Linked DNA regions of Homo sapiens: regions 1 and 2 are each linked to region 3. The links are contacts of gene promoters, found by promoter capture Hi-C in blood cells and fetal thymus (Javierre and others, 2016). All regions are on one chromosome and are shown on one strand. Each heading gives the region's core, a stretch centred on a gene start or on the middle of the fragment in contact. The rest is flanking DNA. Distances are from core to core; before and after follow the strand shown.

Evidence for each region. The method cuts DNA at HindIII sites, captures the fragments that hold promoters and counts their contacts. A CHiCAGO score of 5 or more calls a contact.
Region 1: a fragment that was not itself captured here is called in contact with the fragment with the promoter of RNF212 in region 3 in 1 of 17 cell types (naive B cells); the score reaches 7.4 in naive B cells.
Region 2: a contact is called between a fragment that was not itself captured here and the fragment with the promoter of RNF212 in region 3, in 7 of 17 cell types (naive B cells, total B cells, total CD8 T cells and 4 more). The highest score is 11.0, in naive B cells.

The regions. Positions count from the first base shown.
Region 1 is chr4:1,332,722-1,336,889 of GRCh38, forward strand. MAEA (macrophage erythroblast attacher, E3 ubiquitin ligase) reads left to right here. Exons shown (of 9, transcript NM_001017405.3): 6 at 36-144; 7 at 4,140-4,168. Among named protein-coding and RNA genes, the nearest start is that of UVSSA, 12 kb to the right of the region's middle. The HindIII fragment of the contact is 1,964 bases long and covers 285-2,248 here.
Region 2 is chr4:1,350,507-1,354,745 of GRCh38, forward strand. UVSSA (UV stimulated scaffold protein A) reads left to right here. Exons shown (of 14, transcript NM_020894.4): 4 at 1,209-1,329; 5 at 2,524-2,907; 6 at 4,229-4,239. Among named protein-coding and RNA genes, the nearest start is that of UVSSA, 5.4 kb to the left of the region's middle. RefSeq lists a silencer at 445-613. The HindIII fragment of the contact is 6,115 bases long and covers 1-4,239 here.
Region 3 is chr4:1,111,855-1,116,453 of GRCh38, forward strand. It overlaps RNF212 (ring finger protein 212), which reads right to left and starts at 1,710. Exons shown (of 10, transcript NM_001131034.4): 1 at 1,502-1,710. The coding sequence starts at 1,610. LOC124900647 (nascent polypeptide-associated complex subunit alpha, muscle-specific form-like) reads left to right here and starts at 1,785. Exons shown (of 3, transcript XM_047416477.1): 1 at 1,785-1,898. It overlaps LOC105374344 (a long non-coding RNA gene), which reads left to right and starts at 1,785. Exons shown (of 3, transcript NR_134676.1): 1 at 1,785-1,898. It also overlaps the pseudogene TMED11P. The HindIII fragment of the contact is 6,439 bases long and covers 1-3,954 here.

The DNA of each region.
Region 1 (4,168 bases), core at 17-2,516, 220 kb after region 3:
CGCAAACTTAAATGTGCCAAAATGTTGTTTTTTAGACATGCAAGAAAGCACTTCAGCCAAGCAGAAGGGAGCCAGCTGGACGAGGTGCGCCAGGCCATGGGCATGCTGGCCTTCCCGCCCGACACGCACATCTCCCCGTACAAGGTAGGGCGTGCGTCCCTGGGGTCGGTGTCATGCTGGGGTGGGGATCCAGGGTGTGTCTCTGGTCTGTAGCTGCTTCCACACGTGGGGCGGGACGTGAGGGCCCCATCCCAGCCACACAGCCTGTCCAGCCTGCCAAGACAAGCTTTTCTTGTTTGACTCCCATTTTGCTCATAAGAAATTTGAATCAGGGCTGTGTGTGGTGGCTCACCCCTGGAATCCCAGCACTTTGGGAGGCTGAGGTGGGAGGACTGCTTGAGCCCAGGGGTTTGAGAACAGCCTGGGGAACATAGTGAGACCCCACCTCTACAAAAAAAATTTTTTTGAAAATTAGCTGGGCATAGTAGCACCTGCCTATAGTCCAGCTACCCAGGAGGCTGAGGTGGGAGGATCACTTGAGCCCATAAGGTTGAGGCTGCAGTGAGCCAAGATTGTGCCACTGCACTCCAGCTGGGGTGACAGAGCAGGACCTTGTCTCCAAAAAAAAAAAAAGCAGTTGAGAAAGGTTCAGGAAGCCTTTCAGCCTGGAGCGTTCAGCCGGGGCCCAGCTTCCTTGCCTGTCCCCCTGGTTCTCCTTTCTCTACAGCCCCTGAGTCAGGAGTTAGGCTGCACCGTCTTCCGTGGTTCTTTCTCTTGCTGACGCTTTGTATTTTATCTGTAAATATTGGAGCCTCCGACTCTCCGCGGTCACTGGGGTAGGGTTGGGGGTTCTGCCATCACTAACCAGGCACCCTGTGCTCAGACCTGGCCCCAACCCAGCAGCTGGCTGCTCCTGGGTGAGTGGCTCCACTCTGCACCCGTGCCCACCCCTGCACCCACCCCATGCCCACCGTGTGCTCACCCCCTTGCCCACCCCCATGCCCGTGCTCACCTCTGCACCCACCCCATGCCCACCCCCATGCCCACCTGTGCTCACCCCCATGCCCACTCCCGTGCCCATGTGCCCACCCCTGCACCCACCCCATGCCCACCGTGTGCTCACCCCCCTGCCCACCCCCATGCCCGTGCTCACCTCTGCACCCACCCCATGCCCACCCCCATGCCCACCTGTGCTCACCCCCATGCCCACTCCCGTGCCCATGTGCCCACCCCTGCACCCACCCCCATGCCCGTGTGCTCACCCCTGCACCCATCCCATGCCTACCGTGCTCACCCCCATGCCCACCCCATGCCCACCATGTGCTCACCCCTGCACCCACCCCCATGCCCGTGTGCTCACCCCTGCACCCATCCCATGCCTACCGTGCTCACCCCCATGCCCACCCCATGCCCACCATGTGCTCACCCCTGCATCCACCCCCATGCCCACCCCTGTGCTCATCACACTGGGAACAGTTTCAGTTCCTGGAAAAGGGGGAAGCAGATAAAACCTCCTGGAGTTGACAGTTTGTTCTCTGAGCCTGGCACCAGTCTCTGTCAGAGGCCGGGGTGTTTCCCGGCAGCCCCCACCTGCCACCCTGTAGGGACTGCAAAGCCCTGGGCAGTCCCAGACCTGCTGCCTTCTGAAAGCTGCTGGAAGCTCAGCCTGAATTCTCCTGGTTCTCAGGCGTTTGGGGCATCTCATAATAAATCATCATTAGGTCACGAGGATCTTCAGGGGTGGGGTCTGAGCTTCCCAGACTGTGAGTTGGCACCTTGTTTCTCTCGCTTGCTCTGGAGAGGATTTTGTTAGAAATGCAGGAAAGGCTGACCCATACAGGGGGCTGAGACTTCGGGCCTAGGCCGGGTGGAGCATGCACCTCTCACCGGACGCAGCCCTGCAGTGTGGTAAAGAGGGAGGCAGGCAGTGCCAGCCCCAAGGCTCATCTGTTGCCAGATTCAGGGGGCACAACCGTGTCTCGTGGCAGGAAAATGGGCCCCGTTGCCATGGGTCAGGCAAGAAACAGAAGGAAGCATTTTGTTCAGAGAATGGCAGAAGCCACCAGAAGCCCAGAGGCAACCAGTCCTGGGGAGTGAGGATGCCAGGAGCTGTTCTTCTCAGTGAGGACCTTCTGGACTGTGGGCTTCCTCCCTTGTAGACTTTGATTTTTAGACAAAAATGAGATTTAAAACAGCCTTTAAAAATGTTGGAGTTAAGTGTGGTGTTTACCCTAAACTGAGACTGAGAAGCTTACAGAGACTGATGGGTGACGTCCCCTGATGACCACCTCCCCTCCCTCCAGGTGTGGCCGTCTCCCCCCAAGCTAGAGACTGAGCGGCCTTTCTGGGTTGATGTGAAGGTTTTTCTCTCCTGTGCTCACACACGCTCTCTCTCTTAAGTCTAAACCTGAGGTTATTTAGGGACAGACATTCATCAGGTTTAATTTTCTGTTCTGTGATGCTTTAACCTAACATGGACCGGTTGTTTTCCATTTCATACATGATTTCTCTGAAGTAAGAGTTTTTACACCTAATGCTCTGAGGTGCACTCTGCACTGAGCTGTCCTTCCAGCTGTGTGAGTCTATTTTTTGTCACAGTGCACAGGTTGCACACATTCCAGATCATTCAAGTTGATTCACAAGTGAGTGTAGCAGAGTTAAGTCAGCACCAGCCCTGTGGCATGTTGAAATCAGAGTTAAGTCAGCACTGGCCCCACAGTGTGTTGAAATCAGAGTTAAGTCAGCACTGGCCCCACAGTGTGTTGAAATCACAGAGTTAAGTCAGCACTGGCCCCATGGCGTGTTGAAACCACAGAGTTAAGTCAGCACTGGCCCCACAGTGTGTTGAAATCACAGAGTTAAGTCAGCACTGGCCCCATGGCGTGTTGAAACCACAGAGTTAAGTCAGCTCTGGCCCCCACAGTGTGTTGAAATCACAGAGTTAAGTCAGCACTGGCCCCATGGCGTGTTGAAACCACAGAGTTAAGTCAGCACTGGCCCCACAGTGTGTTGAAATCACAGAGTTAAGTCAACACCTGCCCTGCAGTGTGTTGAAATCACAGAGTTAAGTCAGCACCTGCCCTGCAGTGTGTTGAAATCACAGAGTTAAGTCAGCACCTGCCCTGCAGTGTGTTGAAATCAGAGTTAAGTCAGCACCTGCCCTGCAGTGTGTTGAAATCACAGAGTTAAGTCAGCACCTGCCCTGCAGTGTGTTGAAATCACAGAGTTAAGTCAGCACCTGCCCTGCAGTGTGTTGAAATCAGAGTTAAGTCAGCACCTGCCCTGCAGTGTGTTGAAATCACAGAGTTAAGTCAGCACCTGCCCTGCAGTGTGTTGAAATCACAGAGTTAAGTCAGCACCTGCCCTGCAGTGTGTTGAAATCAGAGTTAAGTCAGCACTCATCCCGCAGCATGTTGAAATCAGGGAGTTAGATCAGCACTGGCCTTGCAGCATGTTGAAATCAGAGAGTTCCAGCACTCGTCCCGCAGAGTGTTGAAATCAGAGTTAAGTCAGCCCTTGTCCTGCAGGTGTTGAAATCAGAGCGTTAAGTCAGCACTGGCCTCACAGCGTGTTGAAATCAGAGACTTAAGTCAGAACTGGCCCCACAGTATTTTGAAATCAGAGAAGTCAGCACTCCCCCGACAGTGTGTTGAAATCAGAGTTAAGTCAGCACTCACCCCACAGCATGTTGAAATCGGAGTTAAGTCAGCACTCACCCCACAGCATGTTAAAATCAGAGTTAAGTCAGCACTCATCCCACAGTGTGTTGAAATCAGAGTTAAGTCAGCACTTGTCCCGCAGCATGTTGAAATCAGAGTTAAGTTCATACTGGCCTCGCAGTGTGTTGAAATCAGAGAGTTAAGTCAGCACTGACCCTGTAGCATGTTGAAATCAGAGTTAAGTCAGCACTCATCCCGCAGCATGTTGAAATCATAGTTAAGTCAGCACTCATCCCACTGTGTGTATCAGTCAACACTTGAGGGAGTTATGCTTTGTGCTGACCCTTAGTGCAAAGTGTGTGGGTCACTGGGGGATGGCTGTGGGCCGATGGCACCTGCTTCACCATGGTCCACGTTTTTAAGCTGTCCCAGGAGCTTCCCTGGGAGCATCCCCAGGACCCTCTGCTCTCTGTCTTCCAGGACCTTCTGGACCCTGCACGGTGGCGGAT
Region 2 (4,239 bases), core at 1,384-3,883, 240 kb after region 3:
ACAAGCACACTGCTCTCCTACCTGTGAGGTACTTGGGGTGAGAAGTCTCGTCACCTCTTTTAAGTTAGCAGACGTGCTGGCTTTCCCGGGCTCAGACAGCAGAGAGACGTGCATTGTGTTTTGTTGTAATGCACTGTGAACACCTGGGTGTGAGGGTGCACACCCACAGTCCCACTGACTCTGGAAGCCGAGGCTGGTGGATCACCTGGTCCTGGGAGTTTGAGTCCAGCCTTGGTAACACAGCAAGACCGTTGTCTCTTAAAAAAAAAAAAAAAAACTACTGTGAACTTACAGACGCATAGGGCTCTTGGCCACGCATGGGTGCTGTCTTTTGTTAGGCCTACTTGAGCTTTATCTTCCTCACATTCTGTATAGATAGCTCTAGTTTTTGTTGTTGTTGTTGATGATGTTGTTTTTGAGACAGGGTCTTGGTTTGTCACCCAGGCTAGAGTGCAGTGGCGCGATCTCGGCTCACTGCAACCTCCGCCTCCCTGGTCCAAGTGATCCTCCTGCCTCAGCCTCCCAAGTAGCTGGGACTACAGGCACACGCCACCACACCTGGCTATTTTTTGTTTTTAAGATGGAGTATTGCTTTGTTGCCCAGGTTGGAGTGCAGTGGTGCGATCTCAGCTCACTGCAAGCTCCACCTCCCGGGTTCACGCCATTCTCCTGCCTCAGCCTCCCAAGTAGCTGGGACTACAAGCACCCCCCACCACGCCCGGCTAATTTTTGTATTTTTAGTAGAGATGGGATTTCACCGTGTTAGCCAGGATGGTCTCAATCTCCTGACCTTGTGACCCACCTGCTTCGGCCTCCCAAAGTGCTGGGGTGACAGGCATGAGCCACTGTGCTGGGCCAGCCCTAGTCTTTATTTTCTTTCTTTTTTTTTTTTTCTTTGAGACAGAGTCTCGCTCTGTCGCCCAGGCTGGAGTGCAGTGGTGCGATCTTGGCTCACTGCAAGCTCCGCCTCCCGGGTTCACACCATTCTCCTGCCTCAATCTCCCAAGTAGCTGGGACTACAGGCGCCCGCCACCTCGCCTGGCTAATTTTTTTTTTGTATTTTTAGTAGAGATGGGGTTTCACCGTGTTAGCCAGGATGGTCTCGATCTCCTGACCTCGTGATCTGCCTGCCTCAGCCTCCCAAAGTGCTGGGATTACAGGCGTGAGCCACCGCGCCTGTCCCCTAGTCTTTATTTTCAATTGCTCAGGTGGATTTTCAAGACACGAATGCTCGGAGTCTGGCAGAAAGGAAGAGAGAAGAGGAGAAGCAGAAGCACTTGGATAAAATTTATCAAGAAAGAGCCAGCCAGGCGGAGAGGGAGATGCAAGGCAAGTGTCCAGGACGGAGGGAGGGGCCCACGCCTCTGAGGGTTGCCCGTGGTCCAGCAGTTCATCCTCCTGGTCCCAGGGCCCCAGCCGCAAGGAACCCAGGTTTTGAGACAGGCTAGGTGGAGAGGATTCAGGTCGGGCCGGAAGGCGTTCTTAGCCGTAGGCCTCCCAGGCTGTCCATGCCTCTCCCGCGCCCTCTGGTGGTCACATTCATCCACGCCCGTTCGCTGCGCGGACCTCTGGGCAGAGATGCCAGGCACAGGTGTGCCTGTGGGCAGTGGTCTGAGCCCCAGCCTGGCTGAAGGCCCTGCCACCTGTTTATTTTGTGGCTGTCTTGCCCTTGCCAGCCCCTTCCCCAAAACTTCACTGTTTGCTTCTCGGCAGTCAGCCTTTCTTGTGAGGGGCACCACGAGAGTGTGAGGAGGGGGTGCCACGGCCCTCCTGAGACACCTCCTGATGTGGGCGGAGGCACGGCCCTGTGTCTTCAGACTACATGTACCCCAGATCCTTCTCCTGACAGACTGTGGTCCCAGGTGTGGGACCTGCCACAGGCCACTGGAAACGCAGGCCTCAGGGCAGCTCACAAGGCAGGCAGCTGGGTGCCCAGACAATGAGGAGGCTGCCAGGAGGAAAGCTGCTCCGGCCCGGGAGGTGTGGCATGAACGAGGCTGTTTTGTTGCCCTAGGGAAGAGGTGCAGCCGTGTCCTGGGAAGTGCAGGTGGGCTGACCTCCCCTGCGCACTCGTGCTTGCTACCCAGAGGTACACAGAGATTGCCTTGCAGGCCCAGCTGCTGAGCTGGGTGCTCTAGTAAGCGGTTAAAAAGTGCAGCACACGACTGGGCGCGGTGACTCATGCCTGTCATCCCGGCACTTTGGGAGGCCAGGGCAGGCGGATCGCCTGAGTCCAGGAGTTTAAAGCCAGCCTGGGCAACATAGCAGGACCCTGTTTCTACAGAAAAGTTAGTTGAGCATGGCATCACGTGTCTGTAGTCCCAGCTAATCAGGAGGCTGAGGCGGCTGCACTACCTGAGCCTGGAAGGTCGAGGCTGGGGTGAGCTGTGATTGCACCACTGCATTCCACCTGGTGCTGAAAAGTGACACCCTGCGGGGAGTGGGCCTCTGAGTGTGGTTTTGAGTGGGCTGGTGCTTTTGCTCCACATAGCGCAGCAAACAGGTGTCTTGATCTTCCGGCAGAAATGTCTGGAGAAATTGAATCCTGCTTGACGGAGGTAGAGAGCTGCTTTAGGCTGCTGGTGCCTTTTGACTTTGACCCGAACCCGGAGACGGAATCCCTTGGCATGGCTTCTGGCATGTCCGATGCCCTTCGCTCCTCCTGCGCGGGCCAGGTGGGCCCCTGCCGGTCTGGCACCCCTGACCCCCGGGACGGGGAGCAGCCCTGCTGCAGTAGAGACCTGCCTGCCTCTGCAGGCCACCCCAGAGCGGGCGGCGGGGCACAGCCATCCCAGACAGCCACAGGTGACCCCTCAGATGAGGACGAGGACAGCGACCTCGAGGAGTTTGTGCGGAGCCACGGGCTGGGCTCGCACAAGTACACGCTGGATGTGGAGCTCTGCTCAGGTAACTGCCTTCGCGGGGTCTCTGTGGCGCCACCCTGCCCCGGCTCCCGGGTAGGCTCCTCCCTCACTGGCACCCGGCCCAGGAGCCTGGGGATGCAGGGGCCTCCCCTGGGGAGCTAGGTCAGGGGTCACCACCAGGTTTTTCCTTTCTGTGTGGCCTCTGCACTGGGCTCCCCCCACCCATGCCAGGCCTCTGTGGCCACAGGGACACTTCTAAGAGCTCATGGCAGCCCCCACCTCAGTGAGGCTGTGGGCAGAGTAAGGACCCACAGGATTGGGGTGAGGTGGGGTCGTGAGGCTGTTGCGGTCCTCAAAGGATGAGGGAGCACAGGCCTGACCTCCAAGTGACTGGATCCCTGGGCAGGCTGTGTGGGCATCCCGTCAGCTCACAGGCCTGTCAGGGTCCCGTGTCGCCATGAGGGGTCAGGTAGCACCGGCCCTTGCTGGGAGGAAAATGTGTTCCAGAAATGGCCACGGGCAGCCTTGGCACTGCAGCCTGGGTGGGTGAGGATTGCAGAGACATAGCCGCCCCCGCCCCCCAGCCCCAGCTTCCTCCCAAGCCCCCTGCTGCCCCCCTGGGGTGTGAGTGGAGGCTGGGGCCCTTTGCGTATGTGTGTGGCTTCAAATCGCTCTCTTTGAGGAACCTTCTTCTTTGGAAGCAGGCACAGCAGGTGTCCCTTCACCAGGGCCAGGAGGCAGCCGGGCTGGGAAGCTGCTGGGAGAACTGATCCTCGGGTCTCAGCTGCCCAGAGGTGCCTCAGCAGTGAGGCTGCAGGCCTGTGCGGGGTGGACACCGCTGCTGCAAGCCTGGGCTGTCCTCGCCTGTATAGAGCTCTGCCCTGCGCCGGACACTGAGGGTGCCACAGCGGGGGAAGCCACGGCAGGGCAGAACTGGAGTTGGGGTGTCCAGCGGAGGAGAGGCCGGGGGGGTGGGGGCTGGTGAGGCTGGGCTGGAGGGGCGCCATCCTGTGGCGTGGGCTGTGGAGGGGAAGGTTCTGTGCCCGGCGTGTGGGGGCGGTGAGTAGAAGAGGCTGTGGGTGGTCTCGCCCTCCAGATGGGATGGCTGCAGCCAAGGAGACTGAGACACAGGCAGTGGAGCTGCGTGTGAGGGGAGGCTTTGGTGTTAAGCCACAGTGTTCTTTTCTAAGATAATAAAACACTTCCTTCTCACAGCATCAGGTTTGGGATTCCCGGGGGCAGGCATGGGCGTCTGGCAGGTTCCCCTCAGGCTAGAGCAGCCTTCCTTGCATGGTCTGCCTCTCCGGGGCCTGTGGGAGACGCCAGTCGGCGCCCTCTTGTGACCTCTGTGTGCTTCTCCCCAGAGGGCCTGAAG
Region 3 (4,599 bases), core at 460-2,959:
AACGATGAGTAACTTGGGGTGTATCCATACAATGGAACACCACACAACAATGAAAGTAGATGAACTACAGTTACATACAAATACAATGATAAACTTTGCTAATCCCACATTTCGGGAGGCCAAGGCCGGTGATTGTTAGAGGACAGGAATTGGAGACCATCCTGGGCAACAAAGGGACCCCATCTCTGTGAAAAATTAAAAAAATCAGGGGTGCGTGGCTGCACATGCCTGTAGCCCCGCTACCCTGGAGGCTGAGGTAGGAGAATCACTTGAGCCTGGGAGGCGGAGGCTGCAGTAAACCGAGATCCCGCCACCGAACTCCAGCCTGGGCGACAAAGCTGAGCTCTGCCTTGAAAGAGGCAAAGAGAAGGAAGGGAGAAAAAGGAAGAAAGATGGGGAGCCACAGAAAGCGGCTTTGCTGTAGGGCTGGTTGTAGGGCTGCATTCACTAAGGCTCCATGGGTCTAAGGCCAACTCCGAGGATGGAGGTCAGCACAGCTGGCGTCCCCTGGGGCTGGAGGGCTGTGAGCCACCGGCACCCAGCTGGCTGCTTTCACGGGGAAGTTCGCTTGGTAAAAGCTCACTGTGTTTTTGCTTTTGTTCTTGCATAAACATCAGTTCAACACAAAATTTTCACAGAAAGAAAAACGCCTCCCTGACAATGCGACTGTCCACTTGACACCAGGGCCCCGCGCTGCCCATGGAATAGGGCCAGAGTCCTCCACTGGCGTTAAGGTTGCCGCCTGCCCGCTTCTCCCCCAGGTCCTCCAGGCGGACCCGCAGCCTGCAAGCCAGAGCCCCCGACTGACAGGACTCGTGGCCCGACCCCTGTGTCCCCCTCATCTTGCATCCCGCTCCCCCCGGCGGCCCCTCCCCTCCACGGCCCCTTCCTGCCTGCGGACCCTCCCCCACGCCCTCCTCCCCTGGCGTCTCCCCTCCCCCCATCTCCTCGGTATCCCCCTTCCCCCCCAAGCCTTGACCCCCCACATCCCCCACCTTGCCCCCCTCCTCTGGCGTCCCCTTCCTCCCTGCAGCCCCCCACCACCTCCGGCGTCCCCTCTTTCCCCACCCTCCCGCAGCCCCTCACTCCCCCGCTCCCTCCCCACCGCTTCTCCAGTGTCCCCCTCTCCCCACGGGCCCCTCATCACGCCCGCGGCCCCCACTCCCCGGTGGCCCCTCCTCCGAATACCCCTACCTCCGCGGCCTCTCACCCCCCCATGCCCCCCCCGCTCCATGCGCCGTTTCTCCCCCTCGGCCCCCCACGCGCCCCCGCGGCCCCTCCACCCCAGGTCCCCCTCCCCTCAGAGTTCCCCTGCTCCTCGCGGCCTCTCCCCTGGCATCCCCCTCCCCCTGCCCCCTCCCCCTTCTCCACGCGCCCTCTCTCCTCCGCAGCCCCCCACGTGCCCCCATGGCCCTCCCACCCAAGTCCCCCATCCCCCGGAGTTCCCTGACCCCCTTGCCGCTCCCCTCCCCTCTCCAGCCTGCGTTCGGGAAGCCCTGACCTTTGCCGAGGCAGGCGTCGCAGTACACGTGCCCGCAGTTGGTGAGGCTGAAGCACGACGTCCTGTGGGGCGGCTGGAAGCAGCGATTACAGAACACCCAGTTGGCCATGCCAGGCGGGCGACCGCAGCGGCGAGGCCGGGCCCACGCGAAGCCCACGCAAGGTTGGGACCAGCCTCCCCGCGCAGGGCCCGAAGGCGGGCAGCTCTGCGCCTGCGCAAAGTCGACGGCAGCCCTGCGCCCGCGCACTGGAGCTCGCGCCCTCCCGCCAACCTCGCGGGTTCTCCCGCAGCACCTGGGAGGGCGCGTGTGACTCGTCTCCCAGGTCGTTTGGGCTGGAGTAGGCGGAGGAACGCACCGCGAGCACCAACGTCCCGCCCCTGTCTTGGCGGTCCTCAGGTGTTTTGTGGAAGCCGGGCCTGGGTGGCGGGCGCGGGGAATGGCGGCTGCGCTGAGGAGGCGTCGCGGCGCGACAGCAGTGGGGGAGGGGGAGGGGGAGCGCCGAGGGCGGGGGATGCGGGCCAGGCCCACCTTGAGGGCCGGGAGCTGGGCCGGAGGCCAGGGCGGCCAGGGTAGTGCGCTGGGCGAGGCAGGGGAGGAGTAGGGGAGAGTGGGCGTGGGGGCCCTGGGGGCCCGGGGAGCGGGATAGGAGGGAGGGAGGGATAAGTGGGTGTGGGAGTTGGGGTGGGAGCGGGAGTGGGGATGTGGGAGTTGGGGTGGGTGTGGGGGCGTGAGGCGGTGGGGGTGGGGTGTGATGAGGCGGTGGGGGTGGGGGGGGCAGTTGGGGGTGGGGGCCAGGCCGCGCTGCACGCTTTGGGACTAGTGTCCAGGTGGCCGCTGGCGCAGAGACCTCAGCACGGGAGGCCTGAGCCTGCTTCCCTCTGAAACGGAAGGCGTAGCTCGGGAAGGACCTCTGCTGCTTCCAGGTTCCAGCATGGGGAAGTGACTTTTTATAAAATTGTCCTCTGCGTGGTTTTGAGAGTTTCCACCCGCTGGGACGCTGCAAAGCTCGGATCGAGAGGCTCAGGCAAGTGCTTGTGCCGGGAGAGCGCAGGGTGAGCGCTCCCGGTAGCTACGGGCCAAGTGACCCCTGCGCCCCGAAAGATGTGAGTAAAATACAGCTGTTTCCAGGGCCTCGTATGAAAACCTTCTTAGTAATTTTATATTGATTACATGTTAACATGATATTTTTGATATATTAGGTTAAATATATATCAGTAGCGTTGATTTTACCCTTTCAAAAAATCCTTTTCAATGTGGAGACTAGAAAACTTAGAATTACGTATGGGCTGGGTGCGGTAGCTCACGCCTGTAATCCCAGCTACTCCGGAGGCTGAGGCAGGAGAATCGCTTGAACGAGGCGGAGGTTGCAGTGAGCCGAAATCACACCACTGCACTCCAGCCTGGGCAACAGAGTGAGACTTCGTCTCAACAACAACAACAGCAAATTAGAATTATGTATGTAGCCCACTTTTATTTCTGTTAGACAGTGCTGATCTCTACCAAGTTTAAAATAGCAAGACCAGCAACGTGGCAAAACCCCGTCTCTACAAAAAATACAAAAATTAGCTGGGTGTGGTGGTGGGCCCCTGGGGTCCCAGCTACTCGGGAGGCTGAGGTGGGAGGATTGCTTGGGCCCTGGAGATCGAGCCTGTGGTGAGCCTGACGGCACCTGTGCAGCAGAGCGAGACTCAGTCTCAAAAATAAGTTTAAGAATAGGATGAGGTGCCTAATCTATCAAATTCAGAAGCTGCATTATAAAAGCATTCTCTCAATGTTATAATGATATAACGTTAATCTCAATCTCTGGTATCTTTGAAATCATAAAAATAATACACATATATGCAGGTATTTTGATTTATTAACTCAAACATTATGCAGATTATTTGTCCTTATTGATAATATTTTAAACAATCTTCTTAGCTATAAAGAAGTCTTTCAGGTACTTCATTTGGAAAATTCCGACTGAGATAAAGATTAATATTTGTGCAAAAGCCCACCATAAAACATTGCTATTTGTATCTTCACTGGTCGTTCGAAAATTTTCTTCACGGTCCTATGCGGAAAAGAAGTAGGTTTAGTGTCATAAAGTACTTAACTCACGATTTTGAGGGGAGGGTTGTTGTGGGCATTCAAGGTATTTAATATTACCCAATTAATATCTTACACCAACGTATCCGTGCAGTCTGCTTTTCTAAACCAGAATCTGTTGCTTAGCCAAGTATAAGAGAGTAAAAATCAACCTTATAAAAGATGGTTTTGTATTTTGGTGTAAAATATCAGGAATTTGACCTATTCGTATATTTTATTTGCTACCATCAGGCAAAGCGAATATTACCCAATAGTGGTAGATTTCATCATTTGAGTCCAGCCTTTATGCCAGGCATTAGGCCAAGCACTTGCATGCCTTATTTGCTTGTCACACCTGTCCTTATCTTCCTGTTAAGGAAACTGAAGCTTAGAGATGACACAGATTACTGACAGGTAGTTGAGATTTAAGCCCATATCTGACCAATATCCACTTAGTGTAGTGACTCAAAAAGCACCTAATGTCATAAGAATAAAATTGTGATTTGGAAAGTGAGCATACGTGAGCCTCTACAAATACATGGGATGCATTTGGAAGCATTTATTCATTCTGCAAGCTCACACCCTGTGCTACTGGGGACTTCGTTAGGCACAGGGCATAAAAAGATGAATGAACTGAAATTCTGTTTCCTAGAGGAGTTCATAGTCCAGCCGACAGAGTGAAGAAAAATTGCTCTCTCTAGTCCCTGTGAATCCACACCGTTCTACCTCAGAGAGAAAGTGAGGAACAGGCAGTTCACTCTTTCCTTGGTCCAGGGGCTTTGTGTTGAGAAATGCGTTGCTGGTAGCAAGAGATAAAATAAGTTGAATAGGCAGACTGACCCTTTGATAGTTTTGTTCTTTGACTATTTGCTCAATTTGTTCAATTAGATGTTCAAGCTTGAAGGTAAGTTCATTAACTTTGTCCTTTGCTTGAGCAATGGCCGCATCAAGGTCGTGTTCTCCAACTCGAATATCTAAGTGGATCCGCTGTACAAACAGTAAAAAGGAAAAAACGGCATGTTTTTAAAAA